Linked DNA regions of Homo sapiens: regions 2, 3 and 4 are each linked to region 1. The links are contacts of gene promoters, found by promoter capture Hi-C in blood cells and fetal thymus (Javierre and others, 2016). All regions are on one chromosome and are shown on one strand. The core of a region is centred on a gene start or on the middle of the fragment in contact, and the rest is flanking DNA. Distances in the headings are between cores, read along the strand shown. Region 1 holds the start of HGFAC (HGF activator). Region 2 overlaps HTT (huntingtin). Region 3 overlaps HTT (huntingtin). Region 4 has its middle 9.9 kb from the start of MSANTD1.

Evidence for each region. Contacts are between HindIII fragments. The CHiCAGO score rates a contact against its expected background, and 5 or more counts as called.
Region 2: a fragment that was not itself captured here is called in contact with the fragment with the promoter of HGFAC in region 1 in 11 of 17 cell types (naive CD4 T cells, endothelial precursors, naive CD8 T cells and 8 more); the score reaches 12.9 in naive CD4 T cells.
Region 3: a contact is called between a fragment that was not itself captured here and the fragment with the promoter of HGFAC in region 1, in 2 of 17 cell types (M0 macrophages and endothelial precursors). The highest score is 7.3, in M0 macrophages.
Region 4: a contact is called between a fragment that was not itself captured here and the fragment with the promoter of HGFAC in region 1, in 4 of 17 cell types (endothelial precursors, M1 macrophages, M0 macrophages and 1 more). The highest score is 8.3, in endothelial precursors.

The regions. Positions count from the first base shown.
Region 1 is chr4:3,440,124-3,443,692 of GRCh38, reverse strand. It overlaps HGFAC (HGF activator), which reads right to left and starts at 1,725. Exons shown (of 14, transcript NM_001528.4): 1 at 1,575-1,725; 2 at 781-961; 3 at 547-643; 4 at 273-352. The coding sequence starts at 1,691. RefSeq lists a silencer at 146-195. The HindIII fragment of the contact is 2,021 bases long and covers 1,205-3,225 here.
Region 2 is chr4:3,210,682-3,214,250 of GRCh38, reverse strand. HTT (huntingtin) reads right to left here. Exons shown (of 67, transcript NM_001388492.1): 48 at 2,109-2,322; 49 at 1,542-1,687; 50 at 116-293. Among named protein-coding and RNA genes, the nearest start is that of MSANTD1, 37 kb to the left of the region's middle. RefSeq lists enhancers at 1-299, 300-800. The HindIII fragment of the contact is 3,319 bases long and covers 1-2,909 here.
Region 3 is chr4:3,239,468-3,243,036 of GRCh38, reverse strand. HTT (huntingtin) reads right to left here. Exons shown (of 67, transcript NM_001388492.1): 67 at 1-3,191. The coding sequence ends at 2,978. Among named protein-coding and RNA genes, the nearest start is that of MSANTD1, 7.9 kb to the left of the region's middle. The HindIII fragment of the contact is 461 bases long and covers 1,371-1,831 here.
Region 4 is chr4:3,257,250-3,260,818 of GRCh38, reverse strand. No RefSeq gene overlaps it. Among named protein-coding and RNA genes, the nearest start is that of MSANTD1, 9.9 kb to the right of the region's middle. The HindIII fragment of the contact is 4,206 bases long and covers 1-3,569 here.

The DNA.
Region 1 (3,569 bases), core at 476-2,975:
TGCCTGGGGCACGCCTGTGTGGCTGCAGGGCCCGGCCTCACCACCAGGCGGCGCCTTGGCCCCAGCGATGGCCGCGCAGCCACCATGAGACGCAGGTCCCACCTGGGAGAGGCTCTGGCCCTAAGTGGCACCCACCGGGGTTAATCCCAGAGCTCCTCTTCTGCTCCCCTCCAGCCAGGACCCCTGCCCGGGTCCGCCCCATCCTCCCCTTGGCCCTTCTGGCCTGGCCCAGTGCCCCCTGCCCGCCCCAGGCTACCCAACCCAGCACCCACCTGGGCCCCCTGGAGGCGGGGTGGCCTCCACACAGTAGCCCCAGGCCCTGTCCCGGTCGTAGTTGTGAGTTGTGGCACACCTGGGGGGCGACACCTGCGTGCATGGGGGTCCCAGGCAGAGGCCCCCCACCCCACCCCACCACCCTGGAGGGTCTCTGGGTTCACTGGGTCCGCCTGCTGCGTGGTGAGCGCCTACTGTGTGCCCGGCTCCCAGAAAAGCAGGCAGCGTGGGGCAGGTGACCCCAGCTCGGGTGCCCCGGCTGCCCGGACCCACCACTTCCTGTGTGCACTGCCCTCCGAAGTGCAGGCATGCAGCATGCGGCCCCCGTAGCGGAAGGGGAACCTGCAGGGCCTCCCGTCCTCGGTGAGTGCTGTGGGGAGGGGGTGGCAGGGTCAGGGCTCCCTCGAGGGGCACCCGAGCCCCTCAGGACCTCCAGCCGCAGCCATGCTCCTCCCACCCAGCCCTAAGGTGAAGCACGACACCTCCTCCCAGGCCCACCTGACCCACCTTGGGCCTGGGGGCTACTGCTCGAGGGAACTGCCCTGGGCGGGGGCGGGAGCCCCCCACTTTGGGGTCCCTCTGCCTCTGGAGCACTTGTTGCTGGGGTCTCAGAGGTCACAGAGGTCACCAGGATAGTGGGGATCGCAGGGGTCGCTGTGGCATTAGGTTCTGGGGACTCCGTACGGTTCTAGGAGGAGCAGAAAGGGTGTCAGTGTGGGACAGACCCTCACACTCAGGTCCTGCCGGGCAGGAGGTCACAGCCCTGAGCCTGTTTCCATACTGGGGCCCCCAGATCTCGGAGCAGGTTCCAGGAGGACACACGACATTCCTGAGGCCTCAGCCAGGCCCTGACACCTTCCCCGCCCTCGGCCCCTAGTTAACACCTGCTCAGGGTCACTGCCCAGGCCCAGGCACTGCTACCCACCAAGCTTAAACCCTGACGTCAGTTTTTGGTGATGGGAGCAGCTAGGAGGCCCTGGGAGGTTCCCCCAACCTCACGCATCCAGACCCAACAGAGGTCCAGAGAGAGGGGGCAGCCCCCAGACCCATAGGGGCCCAGGCCAGGCCGCACAGGGATGACAGCCCCCAGGTGGGGCTCCGTGAGCCCAGGCCCCAGCCTCCAAGGCCAGTCCAGCACCCACCTGCCCTGTGAGGGCCAGCTTTCAACGTAAGCCCCCTGCTCGGACCCCCGCCCCCTCAAATCCCCACGCTCTGTGGCGACCCTCCCTCTGGCCTCCTCCCAAGGACCCCAAGTAGCCACTGGGAACCTCTGGTCGCACTGCGACAAGGTCAGTGCTCACCCCGCCAGGCTGGGGCTGGAACCCCCGTGGCAGCAGCAGCAGCAGCAGGAGGAGGAGGAGGAAGGGGCCCAGCCCCGGTGGGGGCCAGGGGCTGGGGACCCAGGCCCAGCGCCCCATGGCTCCTGAGCTGGCCTGAGGGGCAGTGGGAGGCGGGAGCAGAGCGGCCAAGGCAGGTGGGGTCAAGGCTTCGTGGAAATGATTAACCCTGGCTGCCTCCCACGTCAGGCGGGCCCAGCCGGAGAGGAAGTCCCCGAGTCCCCTGGCCCCCACACCTGCTGCCCACCTCACTTTGACCCTACCTGGAAGCCCAGCTGTCTCTCTGGCCTCGGCCTGCACTGGTCCTAGTCCTAGACCTGACATGGTCCTTGGGCCTCAGCTTAGAAGCCTCCTCCAGGAAGTCTTCCAGGATAATGCAGATAGGTTGGGGCCTAGATGGTCTGGCGCCGCTCCCAGTCCCTGCAGGCCACAGAGCTGGCCACCATCTGCCTGTGAATTGTCCATGATGAGAGCCACTACGGGCGCTGGGCCTTGGAGGTGTCCAGCTCTGTGCCCAGCACAGCACAGACAGTAGCAGTGGGGATGGGATTGTCCCTGTCCCACAGACGGCAGCACTGGGGGCTCCTGGAGGGTTCGGTGCTGCATCCTCTCGGTGGCCCCAGGGCTGGCCAAAAGGCCAGGCACAGGGAGGAGAGGGGCCACGCAATGGCTGAGTGTAGCATAGGATGACCTGAGATCCTGCCCCACCTGCCTGTTCTGACTCTGGGGGTGGCCAGGGCCCCCCAGCAGCCCCTGGTGATGTTCAGAGTGTCCCTTCCTCCCCGTCTCCCAGACAGACCCAGGAGTCCACTCCAAGAAGCCTTTCCAACCCCAGCTCCCCACCGCCGCCTGGATGGTACAGGCCAAGTCTGCGGCAGCACAACCCTGGGCCAGGTACCCTGGGGCCTGGGATGGAGCTGGAGTCACGGAATTCGTGACTTGGGGCTGTGGGCAGAGCTGCCTGAGGAACCTCTTCTGCAATATTGGAGCAGCCGCTACGGCACCTCGGGTTCCTCCTGAGTCAGCAGCGACATCCCAGGGCTGCCGAGGTGGGAGGAGGGGTGAGTGAACCACTGTGGCCTGGAGACCAGCGAGGGCTGAAGCTGCCTCCCTGTATCCCCTAAAACCCCTCTCTCTGCCCCCCATTTGCCTGTCTGTGCAGAGGGAGAGAGAATGGACACCCACTGACCACCCAGCTTGACACCGTGGGCCCCAGGGGGCACAGTGCACATGGAGGCGTGGTGGGCCCTGGGGGCACGGTGAATGGGGGGTTGGGGGTTGGGGGGGAGGTCATGGTGGGCCCTGGGGCACGGTGAATGGGGGGTTGGGGGTTGGGGGGGAGGTCATGGTGGGCCCTGGGGGCACGGTGAATGTGGAGGCATGGTGGGTGCTGGGGGCACGGTGAATGGGGGGTTGGGGGTTGGGGGGGAGGTCATGGTGGGCCCTGGGGGCACGGTGAATGTGGAGGCATGGTGGGTGCTGGGAGCAGGATGGATGCGGGCTTGTGGTGGGTGGTACACACAGCTGGCACTGGGCTTCATCTTCCATTCCGACCCCTCCCCCAGCCCCCTTCCTAGAGCACCACTAAGTGGGGTGCATCCACTCCCTGGAAGCTTCTAGAACAGCCCCAGGGGACTGGCTGTGCTCTCGGGCCTCTAGGATGGTCTGAGGAGCTCACCAACCACCCTGTACCGAGGGTACTTGGCTTTAGGGGTTCCATCAAGGCAACCTGGGGAATGGCCCTGCCTCTTCCGACTCAACCCAGCCCCCAAGGCCCCGGCCTCCCCTGCAGCCACACCTGGTTCCCTTTCTGTAATCAGACCCTCCTTAGCCCCAGGGCCTTGGCACAGGCCCAGGGCTCTTTCTAGACTTCCTCTGCCGTCCAGTTGCAGTTTACATGGTCCCTCCCCAGAAAGGCCCTCAGACCACCCTGCTAAACAAGGCTGGGGCAGGGTCCCC
Region 2 (3,569 bases), core at 1-2,500, 230 kb after region 1:
CTCTCCATCCCCAATTCCTAGCTTAGTACCTGGCAAACAGGCAGCACAAAATAAAAACATGGTGAAGCAGACAGGAACTATGATAGGAACCCACCGTTCATGGACGGGGACTCACCGGCCTCCAGGATGAAGTGCACACAGTAGATGAGGGAGCAGGCGTGGGTCACAAACTCTGTGGAGGAGACCACGCTCCAGAGGCCAGGCAGCTGCAGGGCCAGGCAGCAGCAGTCCAGCCCTGCCTGGAGATCCAGACTCAGCGGGATCTGCTCATGGATCAAATGCCAGGACAGGGCCTAAAGGGAAGTACCGAGTCACAGAATGCCCACTCGTGTACCTTCGTTTGGGGAAGCCGTGTGAATCACAGTTGTGGAACCGTCCAAAGCACTGAGGGGCAGCGCGTCCAGGTGCCCTTGCCCTTCCAGAAGGACAGCTCTGACATGGCTCCATTACATTCAGTCCTGACCCACCTATTCCCCAAAGTGCCAGTCCCCTCTCTGCCACAAAGCCCCCTTACTCTGCTGCCTCTCTCTCCTTCAGCGCTGTGGGCTCCTGTAGAAATCTCTCCTGGGCTACGTGGCCACCAGGCCAGAGGCTCTTCCTTGGGGCTCCCACAGCACCAGGGCTTGCCTCTGTCATAGGTTGAATTTGAGAGCGTGGGTTCTAGGGATAGCAGGCCTTGGGTTCAAATGCCAGAATGGCTACTTCCTAGCTCAGAGGACCTGGGCAAGTCACTGAAATTCTCTAAGCCTTGCTTTCCTCACCTGTCAAATGGGAGTAACAGAGCCTATCTCACAGGGGGTTGTGAGAGTCAAATAAGATGACGCATATAAAGTATTTCATCCTGCATACAGCAGGCACATAATATAATCAGCAGCAATCACCCTGTGCTGTGATCACACGCTGACTTTCCCACTTCCCCACTAAGCTGAAACCTGAAGGACAGGGATCACAAACCATATGACTCCACGTGGTTCAGAATAAGGGTGTATTTATCATTTTGTGAGTAATGGCACTGATGCCCTTTGGACTCCTCCCTTTCTTTGGTGTGAGGTGGAGGCGGAGCCTCTGTGGGTCTGCAAAGTGTGTCCTTGCTGAGGGCAGGCAGCACAGCGATGGCCCTTTAAGGATACAGGCCAGACTTTAATGCATCCAGAACGTGTACACATTCTGGGGGCGAATTACAAGCACTAACACAAACCAAGTAAGTATTCCTTGGCTGACATGTCCAGGCCAACTTAAGACATAAAGTACTTCCAGATGATTATTTTTCATGTCTCTAAAATTAGGATCCACCTAACATGGTAGGTGCAGATGAGAAGGGGACCTGGCTGACCTCACAGGCCACCATGAGGAGTGGCGAGGTGAGGGTGAAGGATGGCTACAATAACTTGACGGTGACAAGACTTACTGCCAGGCTGAGATGGAAAAGTGACTGGACTGGTCAGAGATCTTGCTTTTCAAATAAAACTGCTTTACCCTCTTCAGTGTCAGCCCCATGCCCCCTCCCCACAGCAACACTGAGCTCCCGAGCTGCCTCTTACCTCAAGGGTTGCCACCACGAATTTCACAATGTCCTTCTCTTTCTCAGGAGGAAGGTGCAAATGACTGGGCAGTTTGGAGACCACCACCAGGTACTGTGCCAGGGCCCGGGCCAGAGTGGGCAGGGACTGATACAGTGCAGCATCCCCTGAAACAGAAGGACCTCGTGGGTGGGTGCAAACGTGAGCACAGATGCATCAACTTCGAAAGGCAGTCAAGCAATTCTCTGAGAATCTGATGAAAGCTCAAGACATTGTTCCTCAGTGGCACATCTACACATCCGTCCACAGGACTGCACGTGGTTTGGGGCTGCATCTCCCCTGAGGTCTGGCCCAGCCTTCCTCAAGGGCTTAGAGCCCTATGTCCATGACCATGTCAATGAATGGCAAAGTGGCAAACACACAGGAAGAAATTCTGAGCCGAGGACACCCGTGCTGCTCTTTAGCTACCTCTGTAAACGCTTTCAATGTATTAGATCCACTGCCTTTATTGTACATTTACTTGGTGCAAAGTACTATACTGGCCCTGGAATGCTTTTTAAAAATAAGATAAATTTTAATTTTAATTACCAAACAGATCATTCAACTTGCTCCAGTAGGCCGCCGGCTCTGCAGGCAGCTCGGGCTGGAAGACATGATGGACAGCAGGGAGCTGCTGCACGGTGCCGCTCACACGGGCCAGAGTCACCTCACGGGCTGCTTCAAAAAGGGCACTCTTCTGGCCACCAGAAATTTCACTCATCCCTAGGCTTAAGCATGGAGCTAGCAGGCTTAGGTTGAACTCCTGAAATCAGAGCATTAAAGGTTAACAAACAATAACAACAGATTATGAGCTTTCAATCAGGTAAGAAAAACACAACAGAAAAAAGAATAAGGCAAATGTTTCTGAGAAAATACAAATTGGTATACCATCAAAAATATTTTTAAGAAAATTCTACTCTATGCCTGTTATAAATATTTGAACAATTTCATTCAACATATGCTTAGTAAAATATATATCTGTTCTCTCTTAGTATTTTAAGTAATATTTTAATTTTTTATGCTCTTGGATTTGCTTGAAATAAAAATTTTGGTATGACAATTTTAATTCATAAAAACAAAATCAAAGCTAAAGTGTCATCCAAGACCTCAGTGATACACCAACCACCCTAAAGTTTGAAAAAGATGTTCAAATGCAGCTGAAATACGTAAAAGTAGCCATATGAATGCCAAAATTTTGGTTGGAAAAATGGTATTTCTTATGTCAATTTGGATTATGTTTTAGCAACCCTTTTGTTTAGCCATTTAAAGATTGGTGGCCGATCCTTCAGGTAAAACATCTATCTTAGTTTAATACTCAGAAAAGCATCATGAATGCCAAAAGTTGAAGCTTTCTTTTACAGTCAGAACTTTTACAGCTGTTCAAAGCCCAATTAGCAAATTTGGAAAACCTAATAAACAGATCACTAAGCAAATTTATCACTCAGTAAGTTAGCTTTCACTGCATGAATCTTAAGATAAACAATTTTAGGCCGGGCGTGGTGGCTCAGGCCTATAATCCCAGCACTTTGGGAGGCCGAGGTGGGCGGATCACCTGAGGTCAGGAGTTTGAGACCAGCCTGGCCAACATGGTGAAATCCCGTCTCTACTAAAAATACAAAAATTAGCCGGGCGTGGTGGTGCATGCCTGTTAATACCAGCTATTTGGGAGGCTGAGGCAGGAGAATCGTATGAACCCAGGAGGCGGAGGTTGCAGTGAGCCAAGATAGCGCCATTGCACTCCAGCCTGGGGGACAACAGCGAGACTTTGTCTCAAAAAAAAAAAAAAAGATAAACAATTTTAGTAAATGGATTTTGGGCTAATTCTCCTGTTGTTTTCAGTTGAGCTCTTCAGTACATCAGAACACACTGTTGTGTTGCCCTCCCCACAAGGTCTCTTTTCATGAACACCTGCCGTCACTCCCGGCCTCTACAGGCATTTGTCCTCCCAGGTGCCCACTTCCCTCCCATTTGCTGCATATCAACGCAGGGCTAAAGCACCAGGAGGTTTCT
Region 3 (3,569 bases), core at 352-2,851, 200 kb after region 1:
CCTTTAGGGCACAGGGCCTTCTCAGATGCTACATTCTGGGTGTCTGGAGGGGGTTCAGCTTCACATTTTCCCCTTGAAAGGACACATGCGCTGGCAGAAATGAGGGTGGACAGTAACAAAGAGCACTTGGCAGCTGGAAACATCACCTACATAGACTCAGCTGGGCCCGCAGCGGAAGGGAGGCACATTTTGGGAAAGAAACACGCTTCAGTGCATTGCCAAACAATTCTACCCTGGTTTCATTAAAATCTTTCCCGATATTACCAGCAGGAAAACAAAAGCAATCTCCCCACAGCCCACCCCCAAAACTTGACAACCAAATTAATCACATTTGCAACAAAATTTGGATAATACGATGGGTGCTTGCCACAGATTTTTAGGAACATGATAAAGTCTTCCTCCCTTCTGCAGAGAGCTGATATGGAGACCATCTTCGCCAGTGGGATCCTAGTGGGCAATGAATGAGCCCTGCCCTGACCACGTCCCACGCCTGGATGTCCGTCACGCGGCTAACTTGACCTGGCGGGTCTAAGGAAAGTCAACTTCCAGGAAGAACCGACACGGGCACTCTTAGAGGCCATGCATCTCCGTCTTGAGAGGTGTGTGTGTAAAATTATAGATGTGTCTATATGCACATGCATGGATACTTTATGTATATGCGTGGGTGAAGTCATTTTTACTAATGAGCTCATATTCATCTCCGGAGCACACAGGCAGGTCTTTGGGGGTGGGGGACACCTACTGCCAGAGCGGGGTGTTCTGAGCCCCTTGCTAAGGACTGGTTTAGATCACGTCGTAAACAAGAGGAAGACAAACTCTATGTTGAGCCCAGCGATATGCATTCCAAGGGAATGGCTCTGTTTTACATTCACAGTGTTATTTCTTACAAATGTAAACATCTAGCCAGGAACAACATCTGGCCTGTGATACTGCTGTCTCAGAGCTGCTGACATAACCTGCGGGGGAGGCGGGAGGCGGGTGGGGAGCAGCCAACAGTTCTGAGAACTTTCCCCTCGTTCCCAAACCTTCTAGCGGGCTTTCCAGGAAAAAGCTAGGATGAGAAACAGGAGCCCCCAACCAATACGGAATGGTGATTTTCTTACGTGTTATAATTCAGTAGCTTCCCTTAAGGGCCTCCTCAAACATCGGACCCCTTTCTACCGCTCCTGCTGCCCCGCCACGAGGACGAGGTGGTCCTGGCTGGGGGAGGCCTCTGTTGGGAGCTGGTGGGAAAAGCCTCATACAGGCCTGGCAGAGGCTGCTCAGAGGAGGGGCTCCCTTTCAGCTCCCCCTCACGTATGTGGGCAGCATACAAGTCCACATCTCAGCTGCTCCCCAGCTGCCACATAGGAGAGGGACAGGTGGAAGCTTGGGGGTCTCAAGGCAGCACCTGCACAGAGTTCCAACATTTCCTCCACTTACCACATTCAATACCCAAAACATCGACGGGCATGACCAAACCAAGCCACATGACAGTCGCCAACCTTGCCTGGCTCGCCTCTAGGGCTGAGGAAGCAGAGCCCCTGCCTCGTCTCACAGCCAGTCGGCAAGCAGAGCTCCCAAATCCAGCTCCTACATCAGCAGCAGCCCGGCCATCCAGAATCCACTTCCATTTTAATGACTTGGCTCCTCTGGGCCTGCAAACAGGAGGCTGGTCCAGGGACCTGGCCTGGGGATAGGAGTGGCGGCTCTGACAGGGCCGTGGGGCAGTCTCCGATGAGCACAGATCTGCACTCTCCTGACTAAAAGGGGTCACCGTGCAAGATGTCAGCTGGAACGGGGGCAGAAGGGATGCTGGGCTCTGTCACTAACAGTGCCAAGACACCAAGCTTTGCTGTTGACCGAGAGAGGCTCAGACAAAACACAGCTCAGTGACACTCTTAGGGCATGCATCCATGGAGCAGCAGGTCCCAACACCTGCCAGCCAGCTCCTAGGCAGACGCCACCCCAGGGCTAGCAAGGAACAGGAGTGGGAGGCCCATGTCTCTGGACACAGTGGAGGCTGCTCACAGCCAGGGAGGGCTGGCCTTCTCAGCTGAGTGACAGGGAGGCTGCTGTCCCTGACTGGTGGGTGGAGAACGACAGTCGTCTGTGCCCGAGGAGGAGGGGCTGCAGGTGAGCGCACCCCTAGGATAATGGGGGCCTGTCCTCAGTCCTGCTGTGGCCACCTGCCCACTAACGCCTCTCTACATCCCAGTCACCTTGTGAATGCATAAACAGGAACATGTACAACGGAAATGTCAGCGGGTGCTCAGGAGGGCTATGCCAGTGGCTACAGGAGAGGGAGCGTGGCCGGGGGCCCTGTCCACCACCCCGGACGCTGTCGCATGCAGCACAGGCCTTGCGATTCACATACTTTACACGGGCATAGAAAGAGTTACGTTAAAATTAATCTCTTTACTGATATAATTAAATTTTAAATCCTGAGAAGAAAAGAGAGAAGGGAGAATGGTGCCGGGTGTCTAGCACCCCCAGCCACTGGCCCAGCACAGGCCATGGCATCTGTGCATCCAGACACGGGGCGTGGCATGCACACCCCACCAGGGAGACCCAGGCCAGTGTTCCCAAAGCCTGCTCACGGCACCTTCTACTGCAGGACAGCAGAGGGGCCAACAGCCAGCCTGCAGGAGGGAGGACTTCTGGCCCAGATGCAAGAGCAGCTGCAACCTGGCAACAACCAGCAGGTGACTATCAGGAGAAAGGACCTGGTCACCCACATGGGGTGCAGCACAGCTGCTCCTGCTTTCTGGAAGGCCTCAGGCTCAGCCCCACCAGGACTGCAGACACTCCCTGCCTGGCCACTGCCACAAAGAGCACTTCTGCCACATGGCAGAGACACGCACGTTGCCTGGCCGCCCGCGGCATGTGCGGAAGCCCATAGGGACCAAGCTGGCTCGGTGGAGGCAGGGCACAAGGGCGCAGACTTCCAAAGGCTCCGGCCCCAGCTGCCGCCTCACAGTCTCTCCCACCATGGCGCTCAGCAGGTGGTGACCTTGTGGACATTTCGTAAACAAGTCAGCAGCCGGTGATATGGGCTTCCTGGGGCTGCAACCACCTCAAGCACAGACTGGAAGGCCCTGCGGTCGAGCTCCTCCTCTATCTGGTGTCTGTAGAAGTCTGTGGCGACCAGGCAGAAAAGGTTCACGTCCACCTGCTCCAGCTTGCCCATCCTGCTGATGACATGTGGGAGGCTGGTGCAGGAGTTAAGGAAAAAGGCCGGCAAATGAGGGGAATGCTGCCTCCCTGTCCTCACCTGGGAGTTCCTCTCCTGAAACAGTCTACAAAGGGGTCCAGGGAGCCTGGAGAGCGAGCAGAGCCCCGGAAGGGCCACCTGGATGCCTCCAGCTGCATCAGCGCCTCCACCTCCATTCCTGCAACCCTTGGCTGGCTGGATGCCCTGCAGGCAGGGCACCCACTCGGCAGCACTCACCTGGCCTGGCTCCTGTGCAGCGCTGGTGGCCGGTGCTTCCGCTGGCCTCCACTAGCCCTGCTCCAATGCAGTGAGGGCAGAGCCGTGCCAGGCACGCCGGGCAAGGCTGTGCTGTCAGCACCAGGACAACTGTGCTGCT
Region 4 (3,569 bases), core at 517-3,016, 180 kb after region 1:
ACTTTGGGAGGCCGAGGCGGGTGGATCACGATGTCAGGAGATTGAGACCATCCTGGCTAACACAGTGAAACCCCATCTCTACTAAAAATACAAAAAATTAGCCAGGTGTGGTGGCGGGCGCCTGTAGTCCCAGCTACTCAGGAGGCTGAGGCAGGAGAATGGCGTGAACCCGGGAGGCAGAGCTTGCAGTGAACCCAGGAGGCGGAGCTTGCAGTGAGCTGAAATCGCGCCACTGCACTCCAGCCTGAGTGACAGAGCGGGACTCCGTCTCCAAAAAAAAAAAACAAACCACCACCTGTCCAGTGTTGGAATAGGATCACGGAAGAATATACCGATTATTTGCAAAGGTTATTAAAATGTTCCTTTTCTTTTCAAATACACATCTGGGTAAGAATGAGCTTCTCCATTCACTCCTATACTTCACAACCAAAACACCCCCAAAGTGGACGGACCCAGAGCCTGCTGAGAGGCCAGTGGGCTTCTCTTAAGCCAGAGATTTACGACCATGTAAAACTATGCCACACTTCTCCCGAAAACTTTTTGTTTTGGAAAATATATTTTTCATACAATTGTTATTTATGTTAATATGTCATGGGTTTATTGCTATTTTGAAATGAATACATGTTTTCTAAAGGTCTCAGGTTTAATTTCTAATAAGATATTCTAATGTGTATTAATATTGGTCATTAGAACTCACATAAGCAAAAGTTCTTTGGCACTTTTAATGAATTTTATTTTATTTTATTTTTATTTATTTATTTATTATTTTTTTTTGAGACAGAGTCTCGCTCTGCTGCCCAGGCTGGAGTGCAGTGGAGTGATCTCAGCTCACTGCAAGCTCCACCTCCTGGGTTCACGCCATTCTCCTGGCTCAGCCTCCCAAGTAGCTGGGACTACAGGCGCCCGCCACCACGCCCGGCTAATTTTTTGTATTTTTAGTAGAGACGGGGTTTCACCGTGTTAGCCAGGATGATCTCAATGTCCTGACCTCGTGATCCGCCTGTCTTGGCCTCCCAAAGTGCTGGGATTACAGGTGTGAGCCACCGCACCTGGCCCACTTTTAATGATTTTTAAGAGCGTTGAGGGGTCCTCAGACCAGTTTGAGGACGGCTGCCGCAGGGTGGCCTGTCTAGGAGTGGCACTGACCAGAGGAAATGCGTTTCTTCAGCTTTAGGACGGGACACCAAATTGCTCCTGGAAGCGGCTGCACCACATCCCACCAGCAACGCAGGAGTCTCCATTTCCCGACGTTCGTCCTGGCCTCCAGCAGCCACATGATCTCAGTCTGCGGTTCCAACTCCCCGACTCCGAGGGAGGCCGAGCGGTCTTCTCACGCTGACTGGCCTTGGACTTTTGGCCCCGTTCTTTTTTCATATGAATTTAAACATCATCGCGTCCATGTCAAAACCAAGAAGTGATATTATTGAGACTATGTTTGGAATGACATTAATAAAATGATGACATTGACTTTGGAGCTTTCAGGAGTGTGCGAAGTTTCTCCAGCGCTCAGGTATTATTTAGATTTTTCAGTAAGACTGCATAGTTCTCTTCAGTAGAGGTCCTGTTCCTTCTGGGTTAAATTCATTCCAACTCTGAATGGGATATTTCTTCATCCTCATTTTCAACAAGTTTAAGCTGGTTTAAAGAGCTCCCAGTCTTTTGTACATTTGGCTTTCTGGGTATACAAAAATGAAATCTGAAAACAAAGGTAACTCTACTTTCTTCATTTCTTATCCTGCTTATTTTATTTATCTTTTTTTAATTTTTTTTTTTTTTTGAGACCGAGTTTCACTGTCACCCAGGCTGGAGTGCAGTGGTGCAATCTCAGCTCACTGCAACCTCCGCCTCCCGGGTTCAAGCGATTCTCCTGCCTCAGCCTCCCAAGTAGCTGGGATTACAGGCATGCACCACCACGCCCAGCTAATTTTGTATTTTTAGTAATGACGAGGTTTCTCCATGTTGGTCAGGCTGGTCTTGAACTCCTGACCTCAGAGGATCCTCCCGCCTCAGCCTCCCAAAGTGCTGGGATTACAGGCGTGAACCACCGTGCCCGGCTTTTGTTTATTTATCTTAATGCATTAGCTAAAAACGTCAAAACAACATGAAATACTACAGGTGAAAAGCAAGCACATCTGCCTGGCTCCTGATTCTAGTTTTCAATGTTAACATGCTGCTTTGCTGAATCTTATCAAATATTTTAGCAATGGCTGAGATCATTTTTTTTCTCCTTAATGGACCAACAACTAAGGAAGAAATCAGAAAGTTGTTAAGGACATGCTGCTGATGAAAGGCACCAACCCCACGATATTCTACAGCTGAGTTCTGCTGACATGAGGCGATGCTGCTCCAGCCTGGAGAAGGTCGGGCAGCGCCTGCCCCTTCTCTAAGGTGATGGAAGGGCATGAATCACTGACTCTGATTAGAGAGGGCGAGAAGAAAACAGACCAAACCACTTCTAACCCAAGCACAGCAGCGACTCGCGGTGTGCTGTCCCGGATGCCTGGCAGTTACTGAAGTACCGGTGCGTCATGGCTGACTCTACAGCAGTTTCAGGGTGAAGAAGTTGCTACATCATTTAGAACCTCCATCTGTTATGTCTTGTGGGAGCGTCCAGCCTAACCTTCCTGCCAGGGCCGCGGGCACCCTTCCCTCTCGAGGGCTTGTGACTGGCTCCCTGTTAGGAGGCTGGGGAACCCCACACTGGCCCCATGGGAGCTGCTAGCCAGCCTCAGTGGTCAGCAGCTGGGGGCAGGTGCCTGTGTCATGGCTGGGTTCCCAGCATCTAGGGTGGCACAGGTGTCCAGTTGGAGCCCAGTGTGTTTGTTAAGCAAATGATTTCTTGGGTGGTGTCTTGCCTACGAGGCGGGTGGGTCCCGGAGCTGGAAACTGGCTAGAGCAAAAGCTCCCAAAACTCAGGCCCGCATCAGATGTGCCCGCATCCTCTGTCCTCCTGGGGCCACCCTTCCTTCTGCTTCTCGGCAGGTGCTATGGCAGCCACACTGGCTTGCAAGAGCTGGCTCTGTGCATCTCTTCTCAACCACAGGGTCAGCGGCGTCATCTGGCAGCTGGAAACTGGCACCGTAGCGCTGGCTGCTGCTCCCTCCTCCCACCACTGCCGCCGCTCCTTACACCCTCACGACACTCTGCCTCTCATCCCACAGCAACATGGGCCGAGTCCTCGGCACACAGGCTCTGGGGAGATGGCTGAGGAGGGTGGGAGCTCCAGGACCCTCAGAGTGAAGTGAATCCTGCTTGCCCAGCTCCCCTTTGGGCTCCACAGAACACGCCGGCCTCTCCTTCACACAGGCAGGCCGAGGGCACCCTCCACACCACCATGGTCCACAGGCTGGTCCCACACCCAGTGGAGTCCAAGCTGCTCTCTTGCCTGGCTGACCTCAAGACCCCCTAGAGGGTAGGATGAGCTGCTGCTGCTTGTCGCAGGATGACTGCAGCACTGCCTGGCAGGATGCCTGCTGCCACACCTGCCTCTGCACCTGTCTCCACGGCCTGCTCGCTTGGCAGCCAGAGGGAGATTTTTCTGAACCCTGAGTCAAACCATGCTGTTCACC